2 separate regions of the Homo sapiens genome follow, and region 2 is linked to region 1. The links are contacts of gene promoters, found by promoter capture Hi-C in blood cells and fetal thymus (Javierre and others, 2016). All regions are on one chromosome and are shown on one strand. The core of a region is centred on a gene start or on the middle of the fragment in contact, and the rest is flanking DNA. Distances in the headings are between cores, read along the strand shown. Region 1 holds the start of TARS3 (threonyl-tRNA synthetase 3). Region 2 overlaps PCSK6 (proprotein convertase subtilisin/kexin type 6).

What was found. The method cuts DNA at HindIII sites, captures the fragments that hold promoters and counts their contacts. A CHiCAGO score of 5 or more calls a contact.
Region 2: a contact is called between a fragment that was not itself captured here and the fragment with the promoter of TARS3 in region 1, in 1 of 17 cell types (monocytes). The highest score is 6.3, in monocytes.

The regions. Positions count from the first base shown.
Region 1 is chr15:101,721,332-101,728,772 of GRCh38, reverse strand. TARS3 (threonyl-tRNA synthetase 3) reads left to right here and starts at 4,300. Exons shown (of 19, transcript NM_152334.3): 1 at 4,300-4,682; 2 at 5,609-5,680. The coding sequence starts at 4,386. RefSeq lists a silencer at 4,015-4,904. The HindIII fragment of the contact is 4,301 bases long and covers 940-5,240 here.
Region 2 is chr15:101,310,960-101,318,400 of GRCh38, reverse strand. It overlaps PCSK6 (proprotein convertase subtilisin/kexin type 6), which reads left to right. Exons shown (of 22, transcript NM_002570.5): 19 at 1-82; 20 at 4,896-5,025. Among named protein-coding and RNA genes, the nearest start is that of SNRPA1-DT, 19 kb to the right of the region's middle. The HindIII fragment of the contact is 1,232 bases long and covers 2,014-3,245 here.

The DNA.
Region 1 (7,441 bases), core at 3,051-5,550:
GGGTATAGTTTATATAGATAGATATTTATATATACATATTGATAATGTGAATATATTCAAAATATCTACTTTTTAATTATATTGTTTGGGTCTTTTACATCCTTACTTTTTTGTGGGGGCACTTGAATGTACTCAGAGAGTGGTTTGTTATTTTCCTTTTTTTTTTTTTTTTTGAGATGGAGTTTTGCTGTTGTTGCCCAAGCTGGAGTGCGATGGCATGATCTCAGCTCACCACAAACTCCACCTCCTAGGTTCCAGCAATTCTCCTGCCTCAGCCTCCCAAGTAGCTGGGATTACAGGCATGCGCCACCACACCCAGCTAATTTTTTGTACTTTTAGTAGAGATGGGACTTCTCTATGTTGGTCAGGCTGGTCTCGAACTTCTGACCTCAGGTGATCTGCCCACCTCGGCATCCCAAAGTGCTGGGATTACAGGCATGAGCCACCACACCCAGCCTTGTTATTTTCCTCTTATTAGTGTGTTTCTCTTTCTCCTTTAGTTTCCTGTAGTTTTTTTCAAATTACAGGTGTATAGATATTCATAATTGCTATATTTTCATTGTGGAATGTGGCACTTAACATTACAAAATGTCCTTCTTTGTCTTATTTAATGCTTTTTGGCTTGAATAATTTTTTAGTATATGTCTCAAATATTGCATGGGACATATTTATATAAACATTATTTTTTGTTTATCTGAAGTTCAAATGTAAATGTGCACTGTGTATTTTATCTGGCAATCCTAAATACAGAAAAGTCCTAGAAACAAAGACTGCTGCCAGGACCCACATTGTGTGATTTAAATTACAATTCCCATTAAAATGGACTAGGCCACCTTGGAGAAATGATAGATTCCTTGAATATAAGATGAGCCTGAAACATTTTATCAAACCAAAAATCAAGGAAGCAATTAAATTCTCAGGCGTCAACTTAAAGAAGCTTCTGCTCCAGAAGAGTGCAGAACCATCTGTAAATCATGGCCAAATTTTACCTTCCTCAGTCAACTGGTCATATAAAACTTTTCATGAGGCCACAGGAGTTGTGATCATCTGGGTGACTTGTTTATGCCAAAAACTCGTACATAATCTGTTTGAGCCTGATCTGGCATACACCTCTTTTATTTAATGATAGGATGCTGCTGTATATACCCAACCTTAGGCTTGATGGGTCAAATAACATTCAATTCATGGAGGGAAACTTGGGTAGCATGGTAATTTGATGGTCCCTGATGAAGCACTCAATCTCTACTATGGCCCAGTAGCAAACCAGAAGCTGCTTCTCAAAAGCAGAATAGTTAATCCCAACACTTTGGGAGGCAAAGGTGGGAAGATCACTTGAGGACAGGAGTTCAAGACCAGCCTGGGCAATGTAGCAAGACCCCATCACTACAAAAATTTTTTTAATTAGCTGGGCATGGTGGTATGCACCTGTAGTCCCAGTTACTCAGGAGGCTGAGGTGGGAGGGTTGCTTGAGCCCAGCAGGTCGAGGTTGCAATGAGCCAAGATCTTACCACTGCACTCTAGGTTGGGTAACTCTTATCTGCCACAGACATTTCAAGCACCATCAGATCTGTTGCTCATGTGGCCCACATAGAAAAGTAGCTTGCATAGCAGCATTACCTGTTTCAGAATCTTGTTAGGTTCTCAGTCTTACTTAACACTGGCAGTCTTGAGTTACATAGTAATTGGTTTAGAAAAATAATGTCCAAATGAGGTATATGTTGCCTCCAAAGTGGCATCTCTAAATGCTCTGAATTACTTAATGCCTAGAAGTTTCACTGAGGTGACAGCCCTCTGAATTTTTACATTTGGGGATATATTTCCTTCTCTACCACCTCCACATGCCTTATCAAGGTGACTATAGTATTTGCTATTTCCTGCTCATCAGGGAAAATCAGCATGCTATCATCAATGATAGGACACCAGCATGATATCCTATGGAATACAGCAGCAATCAAAGTCCTTGTGGACTAGATTATCACATAAAACTAAAGAGTTTATATTGTCTTGTGGTGATACCCTGTGAAGGTGTATTGCCAGCCTTGTCAGCTGAAATAAAATGGTGCTCGATAGCCCTTAACTAATAGATATAAAGAAAGAAGTATTAGCCAGCTCAATAGGTGCATATCAGGTGCTAGGGGTTATGCTGATTTACTCCAACAATGAAATCATATCTGGAAGAGCAGCTGCAACTGGAATCACCATCTAATTAAATTTATATTAATCTACTATAATTCTCTAACATCCATTTGTCTTCTACATAGGCTAAATGTAAATGGGATGGTAAGGTAAGGTAAATGGGGTGTGATGAGAATCTCCACCCCTGCATCTTTCAAGTTCTTGAAGGCAACAGTAATCTGTGCAATTCCTTCAGGAATGCAGTATTACTTTTGATTTATTATTTTTGTATGTTGATAAAGTTCTAGTGGTTTCTGCTTGGCCTTTCCTACCAGAATAATAGCCTTATGTCCGAGGGTCAGGGAAACACTGTAGGGATTCTGCCAGTTTGGAGTATATCTATTCAAACTCTGCATTCTGGAACTGACGAAATAACTACAGTGTGAGTTTGGAAACCCAATGGGCTCACTGGGTATTGTGTGATCCTAGCTAAAACCTGGAAATAACCCAAATTTTCCATCAACAAATGAATAAACAAATTATGGTATATCCATACAATGGAATACTACTCAGAAAAAAAGAACAATAGATACACACAAACATAGGTAAATATCAAAATTATTGTGCCGACTGAAAGTAGCTAAACAAAAGGAGGACATACGGTGTGGTTCCATGTGTAGAAAAATCAAGAAAATGCAAACTAACCTATAGTGACAGGAAGCAGACTGGTGGTTGCCTAGGTATTGGGAATGGAGACCCAAGAGAGACAAATTCCAGAGGGTCCCGAGGAAATTCTGGGGTGGCTTAAGTGGGTCCATGACATTCAGTGATGTGTTGGTCATGACAGAATGGCAGAAGCAGAAACTCCATGGCAGTGGATTGAGAAATGATGAATAATGAGGAGTCAGTGGGTCCTATGTAACTGTATCCAGAGGCTTCCTGAGGAAGGACTAAAAAAGATACAGTGATATTGGTTAGCAACATACTTCATGGAATCTCCTCCTGGGTGCTGTTTGGGATTCCACTTAGCTTAATCCAATGAGCTTGTCCCCCTCCGCTCCTTCTCCTGCACTGATTCTGCTCCTGGAGTGGAATTTACCTGCTTTTCCTCCTTGCTAACATCTCCCAACCTTTATTTTCCAGAGCAAAATAAACCTTTTCCCCTTTCTCAAAATTTTCTCCCTTTCTCAAACCACACCAGTCCAAGCTAAGCTCTTCCACTTCAGGACTCTTATAAGGGCATTATTACCTGTATCACATTATATGACATGCTCAATTAAATTCTGCCAAAGTTGAAAAGTACTAGTGTTAAGTGTGTAGAAACTGGCATCAGACTATCTGAGTTTGATTCCCCCTTTGTCATGTAGTGGCTGTGTGACCTTAGTCAAGTAACACAGTCTCACTGTGCTTCAATTTCTCCAGCTATAAGCGGATATAACAGTATCTCCTGTTATGAAGATTAAAGGAGTTACTACTGTTACAGAGTTTAGAACAGTGTTTGTCACATCCTAAGCCCTAAGAATAGTGATAAAAATCAATTTCTGTTCCTGCTCCAGGAAGTTTCACGCTCATGGTTAAGAGGGATACAAAGATATATGTGGCATTTGCCCTAGACTCAAGGAGCCAGTAATTTCGTGCTGGTCGGATTTAGATTTCACAGCGATTTTCTATATGCCCTGGCCCAGAGGCCTCAGTACTTGGGCAAGTTTGGCACGAAAGGCCAGAAAGTCCATTTATAATGAATGGCCACTTTTTAGAACCTGTTTGCAAGGCAAAAGAATGGTGACTGCCAGAATTCAAGAGGAAGAAAGGGTGAAGCCTTTTTGGAGAACGCAGACGATGGCCTTTTTGCAAGGTTTTGGAAGATTTTCGTTTCAACGGACTAAAAACTACTGCCAATAGCCTCTAGACAGGCCTCGAAAGGCAGGGGAGGCCCTTCAGACCCCATTTCCCCACTGCCCGTGACCCTAAGGTGGGCCTGGCCTCAGGCCCCGCCCCGCCCCGCCCCTGCAGGGTATCTGGCCTCAGGCCCCGCCCCGCCCCGCCCCGCCCCTGCAGGGTATCTGGCCTAGGCCCCGCCCCTCCCCGCCCAGCGCCCCGCCCCTGCAACGTGTAGGCCTCGGCTCCAACGAGGCCCCATGGCTCCGTCCCCGCCCCATCGCCCCGCCCCTCCCGGGAGCCCTGTCTTCTGCCGTGCGCTGAGTGTCCGCGTCGCCCTCGCCGCAGTCGCGGGCACCCCGCTCGGCGTCGGTGCCTGAGGGAGGCCGCGATGGCGGCCGAGGCCCTGGCGGCGGAGGCCGTGGCGTCGCGCCTGGAGCGGCAGGAGGAGGACATCCGCTGGCTGTGGTCGGAGGTCGAGCGCCTGAGGGACGAGCAGCTGAACGCGCCCTACAGCTGCCAGGCGGAGGGGCCGTGCCTCACGCGGGAGGTGGCGCAGCTCCGGGCCGAGAACTGCGACCTGCGCCACCGCCTGTGCAGCCTGCGGCTGTGCCTCGCCGAGGAGCGGAGCCGCCAGGCCACGCTGGAGAGCGCGGAGCTAGAGGCGGCGCAGGAGGCCGGCGCACAGGTAACCGGGCGGTGGGGACACTGGAGAGGACGCGGGCGGGGCGGGCCGAGACGGTGCGCACCGAAAGGTTTTCAACTGCGGGGGCAGGTGCGGGGGCGCCCCGGGGGAGTGCCCTCCCAGTGCCCTGCGGCTGGCCCGCCCTGCCCTGCTCGGTGGTCCCGTGTGGCCTGGGGAGCCGCCGGATTTCCAGCAGTCGCCAGACTTAACCAAATGCTGTTGATTTCTCAATTCGTCCATTAAAGAGCCTGCCACGCATCTTTTTCAGTAGCAGAAATAGTGTTTTCATTTGTTTGAAAAAATGCTGGAGTGTTTAAAACTCATTCTTTCCTTGGTCAGAAAGACTAACAGCTGCGTATGTAAACTCTCATTCCCTCTGGTTCTTTTTTGTTGTTGGGTTTTTTTTGGACGAGAAGTTTTCGCTTTTTGTGCTCTTGTTTTGGTGGTTCATCTTGAGAGGATAGCTGTATATTTAACATTTTTATTTAATACAGTATTTTATGATTTGTAGAAAGGATAAATTATCTTCTTTTAACATCATACTTTCTGAGTCCTGAAGCTTCTCAGGCTGAGATGTTCTGCAGTCCTTTAGGAAGGACAGCTGCGGTGAACTAGCAACATCTTCAGGAAATAGTGCATTTGATGTGGCGGGCAGCAACCACACATTTTCCAGCCACATTATTTGTTTAAAGTTCAGGACAAAAGGTTTTCAAGAGCACAATATATTAAATGTGCTTAGCAACAGTGTGACAGGAAGGACTGAACCCTGGAGAATGACTTGCCCACTGAGAGCTGTAGCTGGTGGTCAGGAGAGCCCAGCTATGAGCCTCTAAACACGGGGCACTTGCAGCCTGCTGGCATGACTCTCTTCTTAAAATGTGTTGCTTTTTCTTGCCATTGATGTGAGTCATTTATAATTTATCTTTCAGCCTCCTCCTAGTCAAAGCCAAGACAAGGACATGAAAAAGAAGAAAATGAAGGAAAGCGAGGCTGACAGCGAGGTAAGTTGTTGCTGTGGAAACAATATAAAATACTACCTGTAATTTTAAATATGTGTATATAGTTAATTACCTAGGATTTCCAATAAAAATTACTGATTAAATTATTATTTGGGTCACATTAGTGTATTTAAAACTTTTCAAGCCTTAAATATGAGATGTCTTGAGAAATGAGCTGCCCATGTTTAATAAACACGTGTATTTAATCTATTTAAGTTGTGCTACTAGAGTACTAGAGTTGGTTTTTTTTGTTTGGTTGGTTTTTTTTTGTTTTTTGAAGGCGGAGGTTTGCTCTTGTTGCCCAGGCTAGAGTGCAATGGCATGATCTCGGTTACTGCAGCCTCCACCTCCCAGGTTCAAGCGATTCTCCTGCCTCAGCCTCCTGAGTAGCTGGGACTACAGGTGCATGCCACCAAGCCCGGCTAATTTTTTTTTTTTTTTTTTTTTTTTTTTAGTAGAGATGGGGTTTCACCGTGTTAGCCAGGAGGATCTCGATCTCCTGACCTCATGATCCGCCCACCTTGGCTTCCCAAAGTGCTGGGATTACAGGCGTGAGCCACCGCCCCCGGTCTTTTTTTTTTTTTTGTATTCGAGAAACTAGCTACTTTGCTTTTGTATATAAAGCATTAAAACAATCAGTAAGTATTTATCTAGCATCAACATTTGGTAGGAGTGAAGAAGGAATACCTAGGCCCAAAGAAGTTAGTCTGGTTGAGGAATTCAGGCAGACTCAGGACAAACAACTAGAGAACAGAGTACGATGGTATACAAGTAAGTGCTGTAATGTGTGACTCTGTACACGTTCTGTAAACAGTAGAAAAGGGAGGTGTCATGGGGGCTGGGCGTGGGGCTGTCTCAAAGGAAAAAAAAAAAAAAAAGGGAGATGCCAGCGGGTAAAATAGGTAGAGGAGGCAGGCTTTGAGGTGGACCTTTAGAGCTAAGGAGAAGTTAGATAGGCAGAGAGGAGCCTTTTGGAGGTGGGAAGTACACATGCTCTTAGTCTTACAGTTGGGTTATGTCCCAATAAAACCAATGTGAGTTAAAAATGTATTTAATACACGTAAGCTAGTGATCATCGTAGTTTAGCCTAGCCTACATTAAAAGTGCTCAGAACACTTAGATTAGCTTACAGTTGGGCAAAATCCTCTAACATAAAGCCTATTTTATTATGAAGTGTTGAATATCTCATGTAATTTATTGAATACTGTACTGAGTGAAAAACACAATGGTTGTATGGATACTCAAAGTACAGTTTCTACTGAATGCATATGACTTTCACATCACTAAAGTTGAAAAATTGCGGCTGGATACGGTGACTCACGCCTGTAATCCCAGCATTTTGGGAGGCCAAGGCAGGTAAATCATTTGAGGTCAGGAGTTCGAGACCAGCCTGGCCAACATGGCGAAACCCCATCTCTACTACAAATACAAAAATTAGTCTGGCAGGGTGGTGCGTGCCTGTAATCCCAGCTACTCGGGTGGCCGAGGCAGGAAAATCGCTTGAACCTAGGAGACAGAGGCTGCAGTGAGCTGATTTCGTGCCCCTGCACTCCAGCCTGGGCGACAAAGCAAGACTCCATCTCAAAACAACAGCAACAACAACAACAAACCAAAAAACAACAACAACAACAAAATCGTAATTCAAACCATGGTAAGCTTGGGACCATCTGTAGAACTGAGAAGGCAGTAAGGGGGTGAGCCTGATTCAGAGCTGAGCAGCTGGAAAACAGTAGGCTGTATATATTAATCTCATTATGTTCTAAT
Region 2 (7,441 bases), core at 1,380-3,879, 410 kb after region 1:
CCTGACTGTGAGCCAGGCACCTACTTTGACTCAGAGCTGATCAGATGTGGGGAATGCCATCACACCTGCGGAACCTGCGTGGGTGAGTTCACCGCCTGCGGAGGCCTCGGGCCAGCGTCACCCAAGCGTAGGCTAGCTGCCTTGAACCCGAGAAAGCCCTAGGACTTCGTGGGCTTCTGCATTTATTGCAGCATTAAAATGCAAGGGCAAAACAAGGTACAAAGGCCCTACCAGGGACTGGGGGCCGGGAGAGTGGGGATTTAATGTTTAATGGTTACAGAGTCTCAACTTGAGAAATGACAATTGTTCTAAGGATAGATGCTGGCAATGGTTACATAACAGTGTGAATGTACTTAATGCTGCTGAACTGTGTACTTAAAAATGGCTGAGATGGTAGATTTTATGTACATTGCAGTGGCTCATGCCTATAACCCCAGCACTTAGAGAGGCAGAGATGGGAGGACAGCTCGAGCCCAGGAACTCAGGACCAGCCTGGGCAGCAAAGCTGTGAGACCCCGTTCTCCACAAAAGGAAAACGTTTTGTTGGAAATTTTTTTTAAAACCATGTTTTTAAATTTGAAACAAAATCCCAAAACAATGCAAAGGCCCACTTTGAACACGCAGCCTGAGGTTCTCATTAGAAACCCAGCCAGGCAGTGGCTTATTTCAGATGGGGAAAGGGATAAGAGATGCTCACCACTCATAAGCCATCTTGTCTCAGAGCTCAGCTCTTGCTGTGGAACGGCGCGGACAGAAACACAACACCATAAACATTGAGAGGGCTTTGGGAGAGGCGGGAATGGATCCAGGTGGGGATGGGGATGTTTTCAAACATAGCCTTAGTTCTTTGTGCCTATCTTCACTTATTTTGAACATTTTTTCAAAGAGGAAAAGAATTCTATAAACAATTTTACATGTATTATAATTGCCCACAAAGATGATGGCACAGATGTCTCCCAGGCACAGTTTTTATGCAGAATAGCAGAGAATTCATTCATTTTATTGGATTTTGTTTTGCAGAGCTATTTGCACAGTAAGTTGAAGTGCACCATCAGTCTGTGGGCTCGGATATGTTTTGGGTTAAGTTTTCTCCTCTCTCCTTCCTGTCCTTGGTACTTTGGTCCTTTCTAAGAAACTCACATCATATGAGCTTTTTCTGCAGTAATACTTTAAGAATTAAGTCTCTACTGGCCGGGCACAGTGGTTCATGCCTGTAATCCCGGCACTTTGGGAGGCCAAGGCGGGTGGATCACCTGAGGTCAGGAGTTCAAGACCAGCCTGGCCAACATGGTGAAACCCCATCTCTACTAAAAATACAAAAATTAGCCAGGTTTGGTGGCAGGCGCCTGTAATCCCAGCTACTGGGGAGGTTGAGACATGAAAATTGCTTGAAACCGGGAGGTGGAGGTTGCAAGGAGCTGAGATCACACCCCTACATACTTCAGCCTGGGCGACAGAGTAAGACTCTGTCAAAAAAAAAAAAAAAAAAACAGAATTAAGTCTCTGCTAAACCAGTTTCCATGATACTACTGTGCCTCAGAAATCCTGCAGAATGGGCACACCCCTCCCCACGTGGCCGGCCATGAGCACCCCATGCAGCTCCCTGCCGTATGTCCTGGAATAGACAGGCCTGATGAACAAGGCTGTGGCCAAGGCCAGTGTCCTCCTATGATTGCCAGGCTGACCTCAGACCACCCAGGGGAGACATGTCCTCCTCAGTTCCCTCCTGGGGCAGCCCTCAAGGCCACAGTGCTCAGCATCTGGATGGGTTCCACCCGCTGGCAGCTCAGCAGATTTCCCCAGCAGTTTGCCTGTCGCCTTTTTGTCTATTATTTTTATTATTTCTTTGACTTATTTAGCCCAGATGGATTAGGCAGCATCACTGATGTTGCTTATTTAAATTTCGTAGTCACTTGAATCCATAACATTCAGGCATACAGTTTTGCAACTCTTTGATTTCAATAATTCACTTTTCTTTCTTTGAGTCCCCAGATTGCCTGATGGCAAAAAGCTTTATAGAGTCCCTTGGAATTCTCATCTCAAACCAGTGACTTCTCCATCACTTCAGCTATTAAATTCATTGGTGAGCAGGTCCACAGCTCTGGGGGTCTCCCCTGCGCCCCATGCCCTCTGGCCTGGGGTTCTTTCTAAGCTCCTGGGAACGTGTACATCTATCCCCTGGCAGCCTCTTGGGAGAGAGACCTCATTTTCCTCCTCTGAGTCACTGGAGGCTTCTTGTTCCATGTCAGGTGTGGACCTCATTGGAGGCAGCTGTTCTCAGCTGCCTACTTCCTGTGCCCTGGAGACCCAGGCCCACCTGGCATTCCCCTCCCTGTTCCCATTCAGTGACCACTGCTGTCCACCACCCACCCAGGGGCCTGGGCACAGTCGTGGGGAGGGTCGGAGTCAGGCATGAGTGCTTGGGGTAGGGCATGGCGGAATCTGTCCCCACCCTTGGCTCACAGTGCCCCAGTGCACTTGGCAGGCAACTCGATCGAGATGAGCCTCTCATCCTCCTGAGTCCAGGTGCCCCGTGTGTCCTGGCATGGAGGTTGTAATCCTTCGGGGCTGCTGGCACAGCTGGGTTAATGCAGTGGCCCCGTGGGACGCGACTTACCCACCTGGGGCATGGCATGTGGATTAGCAGCTGACAGCCTGCAGGGCACACACATACCAAGTTGCGGGGCAGTGCCCCAAGCACCTGTGACGGTCAGCCCTCAAGCATGAGCGTCCTGTGCCTGAGACGGCACTACTTGAAACAGCAAATGAGAAACACCACAACAGACCAAGAGAGATTCAAAAGAAAGGAAAACGCTTTCTGTTTTAGTCCCTGTCGTGGCACATTCTTCCAGCTTTCTGAACAAAGGCTCCATGTTTTCACTTTATACTGGGCCCCGCAAACAACATAGCAGGTCCTGTATAAGCACAGCCCGTTCTGCTCTTATTGCTATGATTGTGGGTGCTTTTAAAGTGTTCAAAGTCTATAGAGACTTGCGACTTAATGGAATCCTTAAAAGACTTTCACTGAGTTATGAAATTCATATTTTTTAGTAGTTGAGAAAATAGGTCGCTTAGAAAATCAACCCACTTTAACAGCTTTTTTATTGCGGTAAAATACACATCACATAAAATGTACCATCTTGACTATTTTTAGGCATACAGTTCGGTGGCATTAAGTGAATTTACATTTGTGTGCCACCATCGCCACCACCTCCAAATAAATGTGTTTTAACAACTTTGAAGCTTAATACATTGAGCATGAAACTTAAGTACAAACAAGAATGAGCTTTCTTTCCCACTTGGGAGGCTCCACAGGTGTTAAGGACCCTGGTGCTGGAGGAAGGATAGTGGGGAAGACGGGTTCAGCAGGTGAGGCGTGAGAGGTACAACGGCAGGCCCTGAACAGCTCCCAAACCCCACTCAGAGTGGCACCCCGCCTGGTGTATGAGACCCACCCACCAGATGCTCCCAGAGACCAGTGATGGGGAGGGGCGGCATTGGCCAAAGCATACGAGCAGCCTCTGCTCCAGAACAACATAAACCAGACAGAGTCCCGCCCCCGGGGCACAGCTCTTCCACCGCACCTCAGGAAGAGAGGGAGACACCTGCCATGAAGACGGTGGTCCTCAAGAGGCCCCTTGAGGTCCCTACATCTGCCTCCTGCTCAAAACCCTGTGGCCTTCTCGGCTTCACTCTTCCTGACTCTCCAAGGAGGAGCTTCTCCTGCAGGAGCTCAGAATTCCCTCCCAGGCTTACGGCTGTGGTTCTGAGGTGTGAAGCCAGCCCCAGAGCCCAGGGCCTTGTGCTTGAGCCCTCCAGGCTCCGGAACCTCTGCAAAGGGATTTTCCCTTGATGCAGCGAGAGGCCCCATCTGAGTCCAGAGCAGACTGCAAGGCCTCGATCTGCGACCACAATCGAACTGAAGCAGCTGTGAGGAGGTTTACCTGGGCATTGTGATTATCATAGAGCCCCTGAGATAATCTCCTCCCTGCCTGTAACCCTCTCCGCTGTCAGTCAGTGACTACTTCACTGCCCCTCTCTGACGTCCCATCAGTTGCTCCCTGGAGACACCTGGCCCAGAGGAGGTGCTATCTAGTCAACTAGTCCAACATCTGACCCAGGTCGACAGGTCCTCCTCGGACCCTGAGCCAACCTGAAGGTTTTCCTCCATGACTCGTGGCCCTTTGCTCAGAACTGTTGTGTCTTCGAGTCTCTCCTCCCTGCCCTATAAACCCTTAGTCTTAGGCATTTGTTTCTCTGTTGTTGAAAACGCCCTGGCTGTACACACCAAACACCTGTCAACACCATTCCCAAAGATCTCTTCTTTCATCTTCCCCCGTCATCTTCTACAGCGTTCTGTGCAATGGAAGGGCCACAAACGCAAGCCACGGGTGCAATTTGAAGTTGCCTAGTAACCATATCTTAAACAGTCAAATGAAACAGGCAAAAATAATTTTAGTAACATATCCTATTCAACCTAATGTGTCTAAAATATTGCCATTTCAACATGTATCCATACAAAAAATAAATGAGCTGTTTTATATTTTTTATATGAAGACTTTGGCACTGGATTTCCAAGTGTTCAGGGAGCAGAGGTGGGCCTAGGCCTGTTGGAAACAGGGCCCATCATCGTGGCACGGCCAGTGGGCAGGTGTGCTCCCTCTGAGATCATCTCATGCCTCGATGTCCCCGTCTGTGAAATGGTGATGGCGATGCCCACCTCCTGGGAGTGGGTGAGGACGGCCCAGCTCACAGAACCTGGGAAATGGCAGCTGTGGTGGTGGCCTGGGGGCTCCTGAATGGTACCCCTGATCTCACAAGGCCCTGAAGCAGGCCTGGGGCATGGTCTTCTGCCAGCCATCCCTGATACCTGCTTCTTTTCCTGTGTCTCTCAGGGCCAGGCAGAGAAGAGTGCATTCACTGTGCGAAAAACTTCCACTTCCACGACTGGAAGTGTGTGCCAGCCTGTGGTGAGGGCTTCTACCCAGAAGAGATGCCGGGCTTGCCCCACAAAGTGTGTCGAAGGTACGGTCCTCCTGGCGGGGAACGGCAGGCAGCTGTGTCCAGCAAAGGAGTGCCTGGAGGGCAGAGTCTGGCAGCATCTTCCCCAGGGGCCGGGGAGGGCATGTTGCATCACCCCACTGTGGACAGGAGCCCATTTACAGAGCTGCTGAGGGGCCTTCGTCCCTTTGTTCACTGGATGCATATTTGTTGGGTCCCTGCTGTGGGCAGACACCGTGCAGCAGCGGGATAAGATGGGAAGCAGAATAGCAAGGTGCTCACACCCCATTGGTGGACTACGCGGGACGTCCCTGCCCATGTCGCGCTCAGCATGCATCCTTTGCACTGTCGATAATCAGAGAAACCATGTTTTGGGTTAAAAAAAAATTTTTTTGGAGACACACTCTCACTCTGTCGCCCAGGCTGGAGTGCACTGGTGTGACCTCAGCTCACTGCAACCTCTGCCTCTGGGATTCAAGCAACTCTCATGCCTCAGCCTCCCGAGTAGCTGGGACTACAGGCGTGCACCACAATGCCCAGCTAATTTTTGTTTTTGTTTTCGTTTTTTTTGAGATGGAGTCTCGCCTGTCGCCCAGGCTGGAGCGCAGTGGGCGATCTCGGCTCATTGCAAGCTCCGCCTCCCAGATTCACACCATTCTCCTGCCTCAACCTGCCGAGTAGCTGGGACTACAGGCACCCGCCACCACTCCCCACTAATTGTTTGTATTTTTAATAGAGACCGGGTTTCACCACGTTGGCCAGGCTGGTCTCGAACTCCTGGCCTCAAGTGATCCACCCACCTCAGCCTCCCAAAGTGCTGGGATTACGGGTGTGAGCCACCACACCTGGCCTAAAATATTTTTTTTAGTTAGATACTTAGAGAAATTAAAAAGATCCTGACAATTTCCTCATTCTAAAGCTGTTCTCTGCACAGTCCACGCACATCTATTTTCACCCTCCATATCCTCCTCTTGTGCTTCCTCCCATGTGTCCCTCCACAGAGTCACCATTCTTATTTGATGGCCCTGGACCCTTCTGTTGTTGGACATGAGCTGTTAAAGGAGGAGCTGTTTGCTCTGGTCTCCTCTTTTCTGGCTGAATATTGCCCTATGTTGGGAGATCATGAACTCAGGACCCAGAACAGGGCAGGGCAACCTGTCTTATTCAGGGTGGGAGCAACATTGAGGAGTTTGAAGGGACCTGTGAGGGTGTGACGATGGGGTGAGCTGTGAGGGGTGACGATGGGGTGGGCTGTGAGGGGTGACGATGGGGTGGGCTGTGAGGGGTGACGATGGGGTGGGCTGTGAGGGTGTGACGATGGGGTGGGCTGTGAGGGGTGACGATGGGGTGGGCTGTGAGGGGTGACGATGGGGTGGGCTGTGAGGGGTGACGATGGGGTGGGCTGTGAGGGGTGACGATGGGGTGGGCTGTGAGGGTGTGACGATGGGGTGGGCTGTGAGGGTGTGACGATGGGGTGGGCTGTGAGGGGTGACGATGGGGTGGGCTGTGAGGGGTGACGATGGGGTGGGCTGTGAGGGGTGACGATGGGGTGGGCTGTGAGGGGTGACCATGGGGTGGGCTGTGAGGGGTGACGATGGGGTGGGCTGTGAGGGGTGACGATGGGGTGGGCTGTGAGGGGTGACGATGGGGTGGGCTGTGAGGGGTGACGATGGGGTGGGCTGTGAGGGGTGACGATGGGGTGGGCTGTGAGGGGTGACGATGGGGTGGGCTGTGAGGGGTGACGATGGGGTGAGCTGTGAGGGAAGTACCAGGCGTTAGCCTGCTTTCACAGTGCTAAAAAGAAATACCTGAGGTTGGGTGATTTATAAAGAAAAGAGGTTGAATTGGCTCACAGTTCTGTAGGCTTCATAGGAAACATGGCGCCAGCATCTGCCCAGCGTCTTCACTCCTGATGGCAGGTGAAGCAAGGGCAGCACATCACATGGCAATAGCAGGAGCAAGAGAGGGAAGGAGGCCGGGCACGGTGGCTCACGCCTGTAATCCCAGCACTTTGGGAGGCCAAGGTGGGCGGATCACCTGAGGCCAGGAGTTCAAGACCAGCCTGGCCAACATGGCAAAACCCCTTCTCTACTAAAAAAAAAAAAAAAAAAAAATGCAAAAATTAGTTGGACGTGGTAGTGTGTGCCTGTAATCCCAGTCTTACAGGAGGCTGAGGCAGGAGAATCGCTTGAACCAAGGAGGCGGAGGTTGCAGTGAGCTATGATCGCACCATGCACTCCAGCATGAGCGACAGAGCAAGACTCCATCTCAAAAGAAAAAAAAAAGTCAGGAGTTGCCACACACCTTTAAACAAGCAGCTCTCACATGAACTCACTCATCACCAAGGGGATGGTGTGAGGCCATTTATGAGGGATCCACCCCATGATCCAAACACCTCCCACCAGGCCCCACCTCCAACACTGGGGATCACATCTCATCA